6 separate regions of the Homo sapiens genome follow, and regions 1, 2, 4, 5 and 6 are each linked to region 3. Evidence: promoter capture Hi-C in human tissues and cell types (Jung and others, 2019). All regions are on one chromosome and are shown on one strand. Each heading gives the region's core, a stretch centred on a gene start or on the middle of the fragment in contact. The rest is flanking DNA. Distances are from core to core; before and after follow the strand shown. Region 1 overlaps ARHGEF17 (Rho guanine nucleotide exchange factor 17). Region 2 overlaps ARHGEF17 (Rho guanine nucleotide exchange factor 17). Region 3 holds the start of STARD10 (StAR related lipid transfer domain containing 10). Region 4 holds the start of ARHGEF17 (Rho guanine nucleotide exchange factor 17). Region 5 overlaps FAM168A (family with sequence similarity 168 member A). Region 6 overlaps NUMA1 (nuclear mitotic apparatus protein 1).

Region 1 (2,700 bases), core at 34-2,533, 530 kb after region 3:
TAAAACCACATCTCTACTAGAAATACAAAAATTAGCTGGGCCTGGTGGCATACGCCTGTAATTCCAGCTACTCGGGAGGCTGAGGCAGGAGAATCGCTTGAACCCAGGAGGTAGAGGTTGCAGTGCACCGAGATTGCACATTGCACTCCAACCTGGGCAACCAAGAGTGAAACTCCGTCTCAAAAAATTAAAAAATAAATAAATGAATAAAAATAAAAATAGTGGAACCTTTTCTTCTAGAGGAATCTTGACACAGAAGTATAAAGCAGGCTGATCTCATTGATTTAAGTGAAAGTAGGGTCATGTCTGCCCCCTGGACCACATCTCACGCCATGTATTTCCATGGAGCTTTCAGGACTCAGTCAGGAAATCTCTGTTGTGGAAAGAGGGAAGCCCTCCCTGATGGGAGGCGTTAGAGTGAGACAAGCCTCTCCCTTCAGTGTCTCTGCAGGCTCAGAAGGGCAACCAGCCAGGCTCCCTGGGCAGGGGTAAACTCTGTTGGGGGCCAGGTCTCCAGACGCAGCCAGGATGATGGAGCATACCACCCATCCTTGGTGCTCCTATGAGCAGGCAGCACCTCCCACCCGGGGCCTGGAGCTGGCTGGGCCCCACTTGATCAGAAGGACAAACTGTTGGAGTGGTGGGAAAATCCTGCCTGCCCCCTGCTGACACCTGGAAGGACACAGGCCCTTTGAGGGAGGTAGGAGCTGGCAACCAGCTACGCTCCCAGAATGTGCACCCTGTCTCAGCCCAGCTCAGTCACACTGACAGTGGACAGGCAGGAGCACATTCTCTAGAGGTCCAGGAATCGTCCTGACTCCTGTAGGATGAGTGAATTAGGTTAGAATCAGGAAGGAATTCCCCAGAGTTTGTAGTGTGTAAAAGGAAGAGTATGAACAAGTGTTGGCAGGAGAAAGACTGAGCTCTGAGGCTGGCAGGTCTGAGGCCCTTCAGGACCTAGGCCTTGCCCCGCTTAGTAGACCAGCCTGCCTGGTCCACCATACAGCCTAAGCTCCCACTTCTTTGGCCACGAAAAATGTAGAATGAGTAGGAAGTTGCCAAACATAGACATAGGAAGCCACACCTGGCAGAGAGACCAGCATGTGCAAAGGGCCCAGGGTGTAACAATGCGATGGGTTGGAGGAACTACTGTGGCCAGAACATGATGCAGCCAGACCGTGGTAAAGGTGGGGAAATTTGATGCTGGTGAGTCAGCAAGGGCCAGGTCATTGAGACTCTCGGGGGACAAGTACTTGATCTTACATTCAGCTGGGTTAGTGTAATGGTTAGAACAGACTGAAGCCAGATGGCTTTCTTCAAATCCTGCTCTTCCTCTTAGTTTTGTGGATAGTCCTGGGTAATTATTCATTGGAAAAGCTGAGTACTCACGTGTTAGTACTTAGTCCCTCTGTGGCTCAGTTTATGTACCTGTAAAATGGGGATGATGATGATGGCACCTATTATAGGGTTATGGTGAGAATTTGATGTGATTATGTCTGTGGTGGCTGGGCTGGACCACAGACCACTGGGGATCAGTGGGAAGCCGTAAAACAAGTTGGAAGGGAGGGAGGGAAGTGACCTAGCTGGCTGAGGAAGAGCCCCAGGGATGGAGAGAAGAGGATGGGGTCACTGAGAGTAGCCCAGGTAATCCTCTTTGGTAGGGGGATGAGCTGAGCTCCCTGAGGGAGGCTTGGAGTTCCCCACGGGCAGCTGTCCAAAGGAAAAGAGTGGGGCTATGCAGGAGGGATGGGACTCTGCAGGCTGGGGGCTCTGCCGGAGTTTTGCTAGCAGAAATCCCCACCTTGCTTTAAAGTTGCCCATCACTGACTCTGGAGCAGCTGGTCTGTGTTCCTTGCCATACAGATGGGGGCCCAGAGAGGGGCAGGGTTGCCAGAGTCACCCAGTGACTTCTGACCCCAGGACCTTCCTCCAGGCTGGGGACTCACTTTGAAGCTCAAAGCCCAGCCCTGAGGTCGCTCTACCCAAGGCAGGGGTTGAGCGTTTGGCTTGAAGGAGGAATTGGACAGTTCTACCCCAGTCTGAATGTGATTTGGGCAGGGAGGGCTTCCTGGAGGAACACCACATGTGAGACTGGAACTGTCCCAGAGGAGACCAATGTGGAAACAGAAGAGGGAAAGCAAAGACAAAGGCTCCAAACTTGGGGCTCCAAGGCAGTGCCCCCTGTTCTCTGGTGCAGTCTTCATTCAGTGGGAACCTCGTCCTCTGTATGTAGGCTGGGAACACAGGTGGTGCCCCAGCTATGAGGAGGCACAGACTGAGACAGGAACATCAGGCCTGTGTCACCAGGGCAGGGTCCGGGCTGGGGCAGAGATACTCCGAGGCCAGGGGAGCCCAGAAGGTCTAGGAGAGAGAGTCATGGAGGGAGCCTAGAGAGGCAGGATGGAGAAGGAAGAAGAGGGGTGCAAAGGCTGTTCAGAGATGAGACGTGAGGCTGGAGTGGGCAGCAGGGGCCTGATTGCAAGGTGAATTTTTTAAATTAAATTTATATATTTAATATTTTGAATAGATGATATATTCACATGGTTAGGAAAAATCCAAAAGGATAAAAAGTCTCCTTCCCACCTGGCTGCCTATTTCCTACCCTGCCTGACCCCAGGCCACCCAGCTAGTAGTGTCTTTGTGAATCCTTTTATCTGCAAACACCAGCAAATTCATCATCTGTTCCCTTCCTGCACACAG
Region 2 (2,700 bases), core at 51-2,550, 550 kb after region 3:
ATGCGGAAGCACGTGGCCATGACCCTGCTGGACACAGAGCAGTCGTATGTGGAGTCGCTGCGCACCCTGATGCAGGTGGGGCTCGGGGCCCACTCCCCTGAGAATGGCCTTTCTGAGCCTAGGAGGCTGTCAGATGGGTGTGAGCAAACCCCTTTCATGGACAAGGGACTGAGGCCAGAGAGCCGTGTCCCTGGCATCCGTCGCCTTTCCATGAAGAACCCCCAGCATGGCCATTCCAGAGAAGGAGGAAGGCTTCTCCCGGGCAAGAGAGAATGCAGAGGGGCCAGGCCACCCCAGGGCAGGCGTCCCTACCCTGCTGTTCTTCCACGTCCCCCTGGCAACCCTGACCCTGAACTTAGATCCGTGAACTCCCTCTGATGTGCCGCCTCCATTGTATTCACTGACTGGGAAGTATGAGTTGAATAGAGTTCAGTATTGAGCACCTGCTGTGTGCAGGCCCTGTTCCAGGTGCAGGAGACACAGGAATGAATAAGAGAGCCCAGCCCCTGCCACAGGAGCTCACCGCCCTGCTGAGTACGTAGTGGAGTATACGGGCACTCTAGAAACATCGAGGGGCACCTGCTAAGCGTGGGGTCAGGGAGGTTTCCTGGAGGAGGTGCTCACTTCCACCATGACCTGTCTTCTCAACAGCAGGAATAGCACATTGCAAAGCCAAGTGAGGCCTGGCACATTCGGAGGTCTACGTGGCCAGCACAGAGCACAACGCGCTGGTCCCATAGCTATGCTGTCGGAGTCGGCAGAGGCCACGCTGTGGGGGCCTAGAACACCAGTTGGAGGCAGTAGATTCTGCCAGGGTCCGTGGATGATCAGCGAAGGGCTTTGAGCAGGGGAGGTGTGTGGCCTGATTCATGCTTCATGAAGTCTGTCTGACAGCTGGGAAGGTGGGTGGCAGAAGAGGAGGTCAAGGCCATTGAGATCCGGCAAGGATAGAGGTTACAGGAAGGGAGTGCTGGGGACAGACACTCAGGAAGTGGACTGGTCAGGCCAGGCGTGGTAACTGGTTGGTTGTGGGGGGCAAGGTGGGGAAGCCCAAGATGATGTCTGGGCTCCTGGCCTCGGATAGGTGGGGCCCAGGGGAGAAGCACAACTGGAGCAAGGTGGTGAGTTCAGGCTCAGACATGAACCTGGGAAGGCCCACAGCCTGGATGCACACATGGCCTGGGGCTGGATGAGTGTGGACCTGAGCTGAAGTGGGGCCTGGCAGTCACCATTGAGGATGAATTTGCCCAAGCTAGCTGGGCAGAGTGACAGCAAAGGGTAAAGGTAGAACCTTCACCCTATGGAAACATCCAGAGCATTCACTCACTCACCATTCATTCATTCATTCACTCACTCCACAAATCCACGGTGAGCCCCTTCTGCGCTCCAGGTAGTGTTCTCTGTGCAGGGGCATTAGTGGTAAGGGCCTGTCTCCTGGAGCTCACGGTCTATGGCAGAGACTGACAGTGACCAGCCAGACATCAACACACAGTGGCATGTGGTGATGCAGAAGTGCACACACAGAGAACCTACACACAACAGGGATACGCCTTAAAAGGAGGGAAATTCTGACATCCTACAACATGGATGAGCCTGGAGGACATGATGCCAAGTGAAAGAAGCCAGTCTCAAAGGACAAGCACTGTCTGATTCCACTTGCATGAGGTTCCTGGGGTAGTCAGACTCAGAGATGGAAGGTAGGATGGTGGGTGCCAGGGAAAGGGTGCCAGGCTGGGAAAGGAGGGAATGGGGAGTTACTATTTAATGGGTGTACAGGGTTGCAGTTTTACAGGATAAAAAGAGTTTTAGAGCTGGATGGTCACACATTATGAATGTATTTAATACCATTGAACTGTACATTTAAAATGGTAAATTTTATATTATATGTATTTTACCATAAAATACAATGCGTTTGTTTATTGTTTTTAAAAAGTGCATGGGGAGATGAGAACACAGAAGGGGGCCTACCCTGGTGTCGGGGTCAGGGAGGGCTTCCCTGGGGTTGGGGTATTTAGCTGAGACCTGAAGGGTGAGTAGATTTCAGCAGAAAGAGCCCGGAGGGATGGCTCCCAGCAGAGGGTATGTCAGGGACAAAGGCCAGGAGGCTGGAAGGAACCTAGAGCAGCAGGGAACCAGAGGTGGCCAGGTGGCTGCAGGAAGGAAGGCTGCTGGGCATGGAGCTGGGCTTTCCTGTGCACGCAAGGAAGCCATGGGAGGATGCAGCCAGAATGCCAGGCAGGAGGAGTAGACATGGCAGGGGCCTGAGGGGGTCCTTTGCCATCCCCTAGATGAGAGTTGGAGGCATTAGGGTCAGACAGTCCAGGGTTGAAGTCACGTGCGTCCTCACTGGGTGATACTAGCCTAATCACCTCACCTTCTCTGAGCCTCAAGTTTGCCTGCAAAATGTAGCTAATCTACCTATCTCCCATCAAGAAGACTTAAAGGTGAGCCAGGCGCGGAGGCTCACACCTCTAATCCCAGCACTTTGGGAGGCTGAGGTAGGCGGATCACCTGAGGTCAGGAGTTCAAGACCAGCCTAGCCAACGTGGTGAAACCTCATCTCTACTAGAAATACAAAAATCAGCTGGGTGTGGTGGCAGGCTACCTGTAATCCCAGCTCCTCCAGAGGCTGAGGCAGGAGAATAGCTTGAACCCGGGAGGCAGAGGTTGCAGCGAGCCGAGATCCTGCCACTGCACTCC
Region 3 (2,700 bases), core at 192-2,691:
CCTAGGTGCCACCTCGCTTCACCTGGCTGGGGAGTGGCTCCTAGACCTCAGCTCAATGCGCATCACTTCCCCTTCTCATCAGCCAGGCCAGCCCAGGTATCACCTCCAGCTCCACTGCCCCCAGATGGAGTTACCTGAGTACCCAATTCCTCCCAAGCTCAGAAACAGTGTCCACTGCCTTCCCACTCCTTTCCATTCAGAGTCTGTCCCCTTAGTGCTGCCCCCTCATCTGTCACACCTGGGTTCTTTCCCTTACTTGGGCCACTGACCTGAGAAGCAGGGTCTGTACAGCTCCAGCAACACTCTCCTCTTCCTCCAGAATTCTCCAGATCCTCCTCAGCTTCTTGGCTCTGGTGCTCATCTCAACACAGCAGGGTCTTCCTCCATCAGGCCAAGGTGGGGGTAGGAGAAGAATTGGGAACAGGGACTCCCCTAGGTTCTCAGGGTACAGTCAGTCAATCTAAGCCTGTATCCAACAAAGACACTGACCCCTGGGGTACAAGGAAGGGCTCCAGGCCCAAAGGCAGGAGGATTAGGCTTTAGCTCTTGCTCACAGCCTGCTGAGACCTGGGGCAAGCCCCTGTCCCTCTTTGGGCCCTCAGGTTTGCAATTTGCAGAATGAGGAAATGGGTTCCTCAATCTACAATCACCTGACTATAATAATATTTTGCCTTTATATACCGCGTGGGTAAATTCCTGAAAGTAAACTAAGCTGTTTTCACCCCTGGATCTCATTTGATCCTCCCAACAGCCTGTTTGCATTTACAAATGAGAAAGCTCAGTTCCCTAAGGGAACAAAATTACCCAAAGTCACACAGCAAGCTGGAAGCAGAGCCTGGGTGCAGTCCTTGAATCCTGATCCTTCCCTGGTCCTTTACTCTCTATGATGCTGGAAATCTGCCTGACTTCCTCTAACCTGTTGTCCCATTTGTAAAAGGACTGTTGTGAGGACTGAATTAGGAGAGGCGATGAAGAGGGTCATTCCTTGTGAATCATAAAAGAAAGGACCACAGAACGATGACTGGACCGTTAGGTTACTATTTATTACGGTTATCTTCGCTCAGGCGCCCCCACGTGTCGATCCCGAGACTCTCGGCTTGCGCAGGCGCTCTTTGGTGTTTACAGCGGCCGCGAAGCCCCGCGTTTGCGCGTGCGCTTCCCGCCCGGGACCGCCCAGAGGTCCCGGACTAGGGGCGGACTAGGGGCCGCTCTGCCTCCCGCCCCCTAGTGGTTGTGGCCGCTCTGTCACCACGGCTCCCGGGGCCTCTGTCGGCTCCACTTTGGTTGAGACGTCTCCACAGCCCAACAACGGCGGCGATCTGAGGAGAGGCAGGAGAAAATACGGCGCGCTCGGCATCGTCCTTCTGACCGGGGACTCCAGCATCTCAGTCATCGCGTCACCAAGCCCCACGTGCAGGTTCTGGCATCCATCATGGCAAACTGGAGACCGCGGTGAATTCCACCGGAATGGCGCGCGCATTGCCACATGGGAACTGTAGTTCTTGGCTAGGACCTTTCTGGGGCTGGGCCGCTGGAAAAACTACATTTCTCAGGAGCTCAAGAGTCAGGCTGACAGAAAGGGGGCCCGCGGCATGTTGGGAGATGGAGTTTGGGGGGTTCGTGCTAGCAGGGAAACAGTGAAGCAATGGAGCCAAGTGTTCTGAGCCTGGGCCTGTGGGTTTGAGTTGGGCAGGAGTTACACAGTAGCTCTTATAAGAGAGGAGTAGCATTGTTGCGGCTTTTAGAAAGAATGCTACTTATTAGTTGTGTGATCTGAGCGATCAAGACAAATGCCCCTTTATCTTTTTTATTTATTTATTTTTTGAGACAGGGTCTCTGTCTGTCAGGCTGGAGTGCAGTGGCCCCAGAACTGCTGGCCTCCCGCCTCACCCTCCCAAAGTGCTGGGATTATAGGCGTGAGCCATCAGGCCTGGCCAGATGCCTTTTTATCAACTACGATGGACCTTAAGGTTAAGGTTAAGGAAACAAACGTTGCCTACCTCAGGGCTCAGCTGTCAGCTGGCATGGCAACTTCTTAAATTTCTACTGCTGCCAGAAAAACCACACTCTTACTAAACCCCTAGCAATAGGAGCTATCATGCAAATTGTCAGACTCTTCTTTACTGAGATTTACAACTCAGACCACTACAACGCTGATCGACAGAGGACAGGCCTTACAAACATTCTTTCCTGATAAGTAACTGCAGACCTCAGGCCAGTTTCAGCAAGCTCATAGAGACTGCACGCAAACTGTGTTTGTGTCCTATAGTCCACCTTATGATGCAAAGAACCAAATTCCACCTCACTTTAACGCAAAAACCCCATCCCAAAGTGAACATGGAACATATGTTACAGGTGTTTACCCATTGTGCATGCACTCACATCCCCTCATAAATATGTATAGCTTTTCCCCAAAACCTGCTGAATATGTATGATTATTGTGAAATACAGACCCTGTGAGTCATAAACCAGCCTAGGCCGGGAGTGGTGGCTCACGCCTGTAATCCCAGCACTTTGGGAGGCCAAGACGGGCGGATCACGAGGTCAGAAGATTGAGACCATCCTGGCTAACATGGTGAAACCCCGTCTCTACTAAAAATACAAAAAAATTAGCTGGGTGTGGTGGCGGGCGCCTGTAGTCCCAGCTACTCGGGAGGCTGAGGCAGGAGAATGGCATGAACCTGGGAGGTGGAGGTTGCA
Region 4 (2,700 bases), core at 49-2,548, 510 kb after region 3:
AATAATATTGCCCATACATTATAGGTACTCCATACATTTTCATTCGTTCGTTCATTCGTTAGTTGGGCCGGGAGGATGAATGGGATCTAGAGGCAGGTGGGAATGCGGAAGGGGATGATGCCCCAATACCGAGAACAATGTGAGACTCAGACGGAGGCAGGGGCGGGAGGGGAGCTCAAGCGAGGGATCAGCGTGAAGCCAGAGAAACAACCGACACTTTTCCTGCCAAGAAGGTGAAGCAGCTGCGGGTAAGAGTATAGGTTTGGCAGTGGGAAGTCGAGGGCGTTCCCGTCGAAGCTCCTTTTGTGTATAAGGCCTAAGAAGGGGCAGTGCGCTTTGCGAAGGTCTGAAAAAGACTAAGGGGATTAGGTAACGACTGAAAGGAAGTTTTCACAACTCTCCGTTTTTGGGGGATGGGTGCTGCTTTATCCGTCCAGGACTCCGTGCGTTGGGAAAATCACGCCGCGAGGGGGCGCAAGAGCCGCGTACTCCAGAGCAAGAAGAAAAGGCTCGGGGATCCAGGCGGAGAGTCCAGGAGAAGAGCCGCCAGACTGCAGGGGCAGGTGGAAGGCGTGGCAGCTGGAAAAGTAGGGGTGGGGGCGCGGTCGTGAAGGGTGGGACTTCTGGAGCAACGCTGGGCGGGTTGGGGGCCGGTCGGAGCCGGACAGGCGGCTGGGAGGTGGGATGGGCGGGGCGCTTGGGAGCGAGATGGGGGGACAAGGGCGTGGCTACAGCTAAATTCGCCGCAGAGGGCGGGCGGGGAGGGGGAGGGAAGGGGAGGAGGCGTGGCCTGGGCGGGGAGTAGGGCGCGACGGACCCTTCAGTTAGCCCGCGGCTCCCCGGGCTCTCCCTGGCGCCGAGTCCCACCCCTTTCCCGGCCCAGAGAGTGTGCGTCTGCGTGCACCTGAGTGTCAGTGTGTACGAGAGTTTGTGAGTCCGAGGTTGCCATGTTGGAGCCCCTGGGCAGGAGGTGTTTCCGCGCGGAGGCTGGTGGCCCGCGGTGGACGCGGCGCCCTGGCTGCGAGTCTGCGGAGCTGAGCACGCTCAGCGGTTGTGTGTGTCTCAGCGACTCCCTGGGGGCAGCTCGGCCTGCTGGGCTCCCGAGGGACCTCTCTGGAGGGCCAGAGGGTCGCCTCAGTCTGCAAGTCCTCCAGCAGGCTTTTTCTTCTTCGGCTCCTCCCTGATTCCCTCCCACCACGCGGTTCCCAGGCTCGCGCACGCCCGGAGCCCACCCCCTCTTTTGGGCGCGAGGCCCCGCCCCCCGCCCCCTTGCCTCTGCCGCAAAGTTTATTTGCAACAAAAGGGTGCCAGGAGCGAGCAGCCAAGGGCGTTGGGCAGGCGGACGCAGAGTCGAGGAACCAAGCGCTGGGATCCCGCCCAGGCGGTGCCGCGGTGCCCCTGGTCGCTCCAGCCGCGGCGGGGGCTGGGCCTGGGGGTCGGCGCTGAGGCGGGAGGGGCCGCCCGGGATGGAGACGTTGCGGCCGGTGGCCACAGAAACTTGAGCCGCGGCAGAGAAACCTCTGCTCCGGTCTCTGCGTCCTCTTCCCACACTCCCGTGCGCTGCTTTCGGCGTGGGCCGCTGCGCTCCTAGGGAGTGGGGGCGCAGGGGGGGTTGGCCGCGGCTGCCCGAGGCCAGCCCCCCCGGAGTGAGTTACGCCACTATGGCGGACGGGGCACCCCGGCCCCAGCTTTACCGCAGCGTCTCGTTCAAGCTGCTGGAGCGCTGGAGCGGCGGCCCCGGGCTGAGGGAGGAGGACACGGACACCCCCGGCTTGAGGCGACGCGCCTCGTGCCGGCCGACCACGGCTGCCCGGGGCCAGCCCTCTCGGCGCGTGTCCAAGCTGGCGTCTGGGCCCCTGGCCGCCCCCGCGCAGCCGCGCCCGCTCCGCAGCCTCTCGCCGTCGGTTCGCCAGCTCTCCCGGCGCTTCGACGCGCCGCGTCTGGACGACGGCTCCGCTGGGACCCGAGACGGAGGCGTCTTACCCGCGGCCGCGGAAGAAGCGGCCGAGGGCCCAGCGCGAGGAGCCTGGCCCAGCGTCACCGAGATGCGCAAGCTCTTCGGCGGTCCTGGCTCCAGGAGGCCCAGCGCCGACTCTGAATCCCCAGGAACGCCCAGCCCCGACGGTGCCGCGTGGGAGCCTCCGGCTCGGGAGTCGCGGCAGCCACCGACGCCACCCCCTCGGACATGCTTCCCCCTGGCGGGTCTGCGTTCGGCGCGGCCCCTGACCGGGCCGGAGACCGAAGGGAGGCTGCGCCGGCCGCAGCAGCAACAGGAGCGGGCGCAGCGTCCAGCGGATGGTTTACATTCTTGGCATATCTTCTCCCAACCGCAGGCCGGGGCCCGGGCCTCCTGCTCCTCCTCCTCCATCGCCGCCTCCTATCCTGTCAGCCGCAGTCGTGCTGCCAGCTCCAGCGAGGAGGAAGAGGAGGGCCCGCCGCAGCTGCCTGGAGCCCAGAGTCCGGCCTACCACGGCGGCCACTCCTCGGGCAGTGACGACGACCGAGACGGTGAGGGCGGCCACCGCTGGGGAGGGAGGCCCGGGCTCAGGCCTGGAAGCTCCCTATTGGATCAGGACTGCAGGCCTGACAGTGATGGGTTAAATCTAAGCAGCATGAACTCAGCAGGGGTTTCTGGGAGCCCTGAGCCCCCAACATCTCCAAGAGCCCCTAGAGAAGAAGGACTCCGGGAGTGGGGTAGTG
Region 5 (2,700 bases), core at 185-2,684, 740 kb after region 3:
AGCCTCAACCTCCCAGGTTTAAGTGATCCTCCCACCTCACCCTCCCAGGTAGCTGGAACCACAGGCGCACACCATCATGCCTGGCTAATTTTTTTTTTTTTTTTTTTTTGGTAGAGAAAGATTTTCACCATGTTGCCCAGGCTGGTCTCAAGCTCCTGGACTCAAGCAGTCTACCCTCCTTGGCCTCCCAAAGTGTTTAGATCACAGGCATGAGCCACCATGCCTGGCCCCAAGTATTACTTTCACTGTAAACTTTTCTCCAGTCATTCCCTGCACCCTTGATCTGGGCAAAATTAATGATTATCTGTTTAGTGCTCTTTATACATCTCTCATTATAACTTATTATGCTGTAATGTAATTATTTGTGTGTCTCTTTCCAAACAAACCATGAGATTCTTATCAGGACATATACCTACCCCACCCCTGCCCAGTGCCTGTTATTATTCCTAGTACACCGCAGGAGTAATGTATATAAAATTGCTCTACTGAATTGCCTGGATAAACTCAGCCTTTAAGCCTAAGAATGAATGGATCCTGGAGCCCTAAGATTTCCCAATTCATGACAAATCCTTCCTGGGGTCTAGAACATTAGGCTGTACTAGAAATTCAGTAAATATTTGTACTTGAGAGCTTAAGTATTTCTTTGTGCCAAACCAGCAATGCAACTGTATATCTTTAGAGCTTCCACTAAAGGAATCAGTTTTTTGCAAGTCCAAACACAACAGTTCTTTATCCTCCTCCTCTACATAAATTGGAAAATAGACTGAGAATTCCAATCAGCTGAAACCTTCCCAGAGAAGAGGACTTGGTTGTTTACTACAGTTCAAACCATTGCTATCTAAATTTCAATGTTGGTGGCATATTTTTTCTTTTGGCAGCTCATTCTGACTTAGGGCGGATGCATCATGCACCGCAATCAGAGAGCAGGAGTTGGAGTCAAAAGAAGAGAATGAGTCCCAGACACTGTCATGCCTTATTTTTTCAGGTGAACTTGGACAAGTCATTTAATCTCTCTGAACTTCAATTTTCAGCTGGGAAAGAGGAAAAATGCTACCTGTCCCACCAGGCTACTACAGGATCAAATGAGAAGTATTCCTTACTGCATTGCTCTCTGACCTTAAGAATTTGACCTTCTCTGTAGAAGTCCATATACAAAGGCTAGAACAGAGAAACGACAGAGCAGTAAGGTTCGAATCAGACAACCTGAGATTAGTCCCAGCTTACCACTCAATTATGTGATAGAGCAAGGCATTTAATTCTCTGAACTTCAGATTGTCCAATCTATAAAATGGGGATAATCCCACCTGCCCTACTTACCTTATAGAATCATTATGAAGCTTTAAAAAATGAGATAATATAGATGAAAGCAATTTATTTGAGAAATCATGAAGTTTCATTATAATATGTCACTTACGTGGAATTCAGCAACCCAATTACCTTGTCTTTCTGGAACACACAGAGAACTAGGAAGCAAGCAAAAAAGGTCTCTCTAAAGCCAAAATAACTGTCTTTAATTCTTCACACTTTACTACTAGTAGAGTCCCTAGGGCCTTACTCTTCCTTTGAAAACACATCTAATAAACCGTAATTTGGGAGCACCACACAGAGTAGGAGAAAAGTGACCAAGTAAGAAAGGAGAACCATATTCTCTGTTGTGTTTCACCAACAGCAAGGAGAAAAGGCCAAAAAAAAAATTCAAAACAACCACAAAAATCTAAAAAGCATAGTATTCACACCAAAAAGTGGCTTTTAGCTTTTTTGTTTTAAAGTACAGTATTAGGGTATTTAGTATAAAATGTATTACTGTAACATAAAAAAGCAGACTAGCTGATGTTCAAAATAATTAACTTGAACCTCAAGAAAGATTCAATAATGTTCTGACTATTCTGAAGAGGGTAATATATAATGTTTTTAGGGAGAAAATTCACTCAAAACAGTAAACTTTTGGGGGGAGTGCTTAAATGAATAAAGCATCAACTGTCAAGGTAAGTTAGTCATCTGGTGGGTGCCTCTACCTAATTTGCTAATGGACATAAAAATTTATTGGTGGAATTATGAATAAGTGCCCTAAGGTCACACAGCTTGTTAAGCAATAGATTCAAAACCCAAGCCTCTCAGAATCAAAAGCCCATACTCTTCCCAGTGCAAATAGCTACCTTCAAACATGGTAATACATGATTTCTTCACCTGTCAAACAGGGAATGAAATGCTGATACAGACATCTTCATAGAGTTGATAAACTGAATAAATGTCCTCTCCTTAGACCCTACTTTTGGATTTTAAATGAAGTGTAAAACCATAAAAACAAAGAGAAATGGAGACGAGCAATAGCCATAAAATACTGAAAGCTAGAAAGCAGATGGATGAGCAGAAACTGACTTATTAGATCCAAGGAAAATGAATACTAAGTCAGCAGTGGGAAAAAACAAAAACTAACTCAATTTTACCTGTAGAAGCCACACAAGGCTCAGAAACTGGCAGTATCATGTATTTCTTTCTTTCATTTTTTATTTTTATTTATTTATTTTTTTTTTTTTGAGACGGAGTCTCACTCTGTCACCCAGGCTGGAGCGCAATGGTGCGATCGCAGTTCACTGCAACCTCCACCTCCTGGGTTCAAGCAATTCTCCTCCCTCAGCCTCCCGAGTAACTGGGATTACAGGAGCCCACCACCACGCCTGGAAAATTTTTGTATTTTTA
Region 6 (2,700 bases), core at 146-2,645, 760 kb before region 3:
TGTAAATCAAAGGGAACAGCCTAGTGAGACCGTTAGAAGCAACATGGTTTGCTCCTTTTCCCAGAGGCTTAATGTGAGTGCTTACAGTTGTAGACTATAGGAATACAAGAACTGATGATTCTCAGGTTTTTAATTTCAGGAAGGAGTGCCGTTGCACTCACTCATCCAGTTACAGCCACCTGAAATGCAACCATCAGAGAGCCCTTCCTTTGGCTTCAACTAAATAAAAGCTTAAACTTTCCTAAGATGTTCCAGCACTGGGAGTATTTTGGAAGGATACACCAATAAATTGGTACTACCACTGCTTCTAAAGAGAGGAACTTGACAGCAGGGAGTCTGAGGTGGGAAAAGAAAGGCTCTTACATTATAACTCTCTGTAGCTCTTGAATGTATTATAGCTCTTTGTATTTCTTGAACGTTTACATTATAAGTTTCTGTATCCCTTGGATTTTTATATTATAGTCCTTTGTGGCTCTTGAGTTTTGAAATATCTATTCAAAACTTAAATATTACATATATGCTATACACTCCCACAAACATATAAAATCTTATTAATACATTTTATATTATAGCCCTTTGTGGCTCTTGAGTTTTGAAATATCTATTCAAAACTTAAATATTACATATATGCTATACACTCCCACAAAGATATAAAATCTTATTAATACATTTTTATTCTTTCCACACATAAAGCTTTGGCTGAGGGGAGAAGGGAAAAACAATAGGGGAACAAGATGATTTTTTAAAAAGGGGGTGGAGGGAGCCAAGCGCGGTGGCTCACACCTGTAATCCTAGCACTTTGGGAGGCTGAGGCGGGAAGATCACTTGAGCTCAGGAGTTCAAGACCAACCTGGGCAACATGGTGAAACCCTGTCCTACAAAAAATACAAAAAATTAGCCAGGAGTGGTGGCACATACCTGTAGTCCCAGCTACTTAGAAGGCTGAGGTGGGAGGATCACCTTAGCCCAGGGAGGTCGAGGCTGCAGTGAGCTGGGATTGCATCACTGTACTCTAGCCTGAGTGACAGAGCAAGACCCTGTCTCCAAAGGAAAAAAAAAAAGAAAAGAAAAGAAAAAAAAAGGGGGCGGTGGGGGATGAAAGAATAGGAGCTGGGAATTTCAAAGAAAAACTTCTTAATTCTAATTTAGTTGCCTGTTCCCATTCTTTGGCTTCAGATAGGCATACATTTAAATCAGTTTTTACCACTAGAATATTCACCAGGGGTCACACACATCAGGTACACAGGTTATTCAATAAGTATACATGGTCAACCTCTACAGGAAAACCTCATGAATTCCACAGGCACTACAGTTCAGAAGTAGCCTGGGCTGAAGTTTACGTTTTTATTACTATAGGAAGAAAGGGTTTGCTAAGTTAATTATTCACATATTCAACACTAAGAGGGGAGAGAGACTGAGCCTGCTTTAAGAAACAAGGTATTTTAAAGAACTTCAGCATAGTGGTTATGTGCAGACAACTAGATTCTATTGCTTACAAATGTGTTCTCTATATTTGGGCTGGGAGCCAGTACATACACACTTTGGGCCCAGCTCCTCCACAAACTTGCCAGCAACCTTTGTTACAAACTTTATTTCTCTCTGCACTAGTTTCCTCCCTTGCCAAATGGATGGAATCCCTACTTTATCTACTTCAAAGGACCAGTGTGAGCTCAAATGGGATTATGGATGCAAGAACACATTAAAAAATATAAAGTAGGCCAGGTGCAGTGGCTCACACCTGTAATCCCAGCACTTTGGGAGGCTGAGGTAGGGGGACTGCTTGAGGCTGGGAGTTTAGGACCACCCTGGGCAACATAACAATACCTTGTCTCTACTAAATAAATAAATAAGCAAGCAAGCAAGCTGGACATGGTGACATGTGCCTGTAAGTCCTACCTACATAAGAGGCTGAGGTAGGTGGATCATTTGAGCCCAGGAGCTGGAGAAGTTACAATGAGCTATGATAGTGTCCCTGCACTGTGGCCTGGGCAACAGAGACATCTCAAAAAAAAAAAGAAAAAAGAAAAACTAATAAACATAAAGCACTATTATGGTTAATAAAATTAAAATAATGAAGTAGACATAACATTTGTATTTCTTAATAGTTAAGTTAGCTGCATGCACTATAGAATTAAGAGGATTTTTAAAAATCAATGATTTCTCTACAGACATGATAGTATTTATTTGAGTTAAACACTTTCACATTTAAAAACAACTTTTAGGCCAGGCGCAGTGGCCCATGCCTGTAATCCCAGCACTTGGGGAGGCTGAGGTGGAAGGACTGCTTGAGGCCAGGAGTTCAAGACCAGCCTGGGCAACATAAGGAGACCCTGGCTCTACAAAATAATAATTTAAAAAAATTTTTAGCTGGGTGAGGTGGCTTGCGCCTGTATGCTCGCGTAGTCCCTGCTACTCGGGAGGCTGACGTGGGAAGATCGCTTGAGCCTGGGAGGTCAAGGCTACAGCGAGCTATGATCACACCACTGCACTCTAGCCTGGCCAACGGATTGAGACCCTGTCTCAAAAAAATAAATAAATAAATAAATACAACATTTAGGCTAGGTGTGGTGGCTCATGCCTGTAATCCCAGTGCTTTGGGAGGACGAGGAGGGAGAATCGCTTGAGGCCAGGAGTTTGAGATCAGCCTAGGCAACATAGCAAGACCCTTTCCCCAAAAAATTAAAAAAAAAAAAAAAAAGA

The links. The method cuts DNA at HindIII sites, captures the fragments that hold promoters and counts their contacts. A contact is called where the count stands out against the background at its distance.
Region 1: a fragment that was not itself captured here is called in contact with the fragment with the promoter of STARD10 in region 3 in 4 of the 25 tissues and cell types used here (H1 embryonic stem cells, liver, mesenchymal stem cells and 1 more).
Region 2: a contact is called between a fragment that was not itself captured here and the fragment with the promoter of STARD10 in region 3, in 2 of the 25 tissues and cell types used here (adrenal gland and dorsolateral prefrontal cortex).
Region 4: the fragment with the promoter of ARHGEF17 here is called in contact with the fragment with the promoter of STARD10 in region 3 in 5 of the 25 tissues and cell types used here (lymphoblastoid cells, mesenchymal stem cells, mesendoderm cells and 2 more).
Region 5: a fragment that was not itself captured here is called in contact with the fragment with the promoter of STARD10 in region 3 in 2 of the 25 tissues and cell types used here (heart right ventricle and lymphoblastoid cells).
Region 6: a contact is called between a fragment that was not itself captured here and the fragment with the promoter of STARD10 in region 3, in 2 of the 25 tissues and cell types used here (dorsolateral prefrontal cortex and pancreas).

What each region holds. Positions count from the first base shown.
Region 1 is chr11:73,326,540-73,329,239 of GRCh38, forward strand. The region is part of intron 1 of ARHGEF17 (Rho guanine nucleotide exchange factor 17); the gene reads left to right. Among named protein-coding and RNA genes, the nearest start is that of ARHGEF17-AS1, 19 kb to the left of the region's middle. The HindIII fragment of the contact is 4,464 bases long and covers 1-2,700 here.
Region 2 is chr11:73,346,886-73,349,585 of GRCh38, forward strand. ARHGEF17 (Rho guanine nucleotide exchange factor 17) reads left to right here. Exons shown (of 21, transcript NM_014786.4): 2 at 1-75. Among named protein-coding and RNA genes, the nearest start is that of RELT, 28 kb to the right of the region's middle. The HindIII fragment of the contact is 8,075 bases long and covers 1-2,700 here.
Region 3 is chr11:72,792,606-72,795,305 of GRCh38, forward strand. STARD10 (StAR related lipid transfer domain containing 10) reads right to left here and starts at 1,442. Exons shown (of 7, transcript NM_006645.3): 1 at 270-1,442. RefSeq lists enhancers at 1-66, 1,198-1,767. The HindIII fragment of the contact is 19,379 bases long and covers 1-2,700 here.
Region 4 is chr11:73,306,978-73,309,677 of GRCh38, forward strand. ARHGEF17 (Rho guanine nucleotide exchange factor 17) reads left to right here and starts at 1,299. Exons shown (of 21, transcript NM_014786.4): 1 at 1,299-2,700. The coding sequence starts at 1,662. ARHGEF17-AS1 (ARHGEF17 antisense RNA 1) reads right to left here and starts at 2,384. Exons shown (of 3, transcript NR_147696.1): 1 at 1,695-2,384; 2 at 905-1,587; 3 at 534-579. RefSeq lists silencers at 671-810, 1,211-1,540, 1,771-1,990 and enhancers at 1,411-2,288, 2,294-2,700. The HindIII fragment of the contact is 12,473 bases long and covers 1-2,700 here.
Region 5 is chr11:73,531,884-73,534,583 of GRCh38, forward strand. The region is part of intron 1 of FAM168A (family with sequence similarity 168 member A); the gene reads right to left. Among named protein-coding and RNA genes, the nearest start is that of FAM168A, 65 kb to the right of the region's middle. The HindIII fragment of the contact is 5,334 bases long and covers 1-2,700 here.
Region 6 is chr11:72,029,292-72,031,991 of GRCh38, forward strand. The region is part of intron 3 of NUMA1 (nuclear mitotic apparatus protein 1); the gene reads right to left. Among named protein-coding and RNA genes, the nearest start is that of NUMA1-AS1, 16 kb to the left of the region's middle. The HindIII fragment of the contact is 4,468 bases long and covers 1-2,700 here.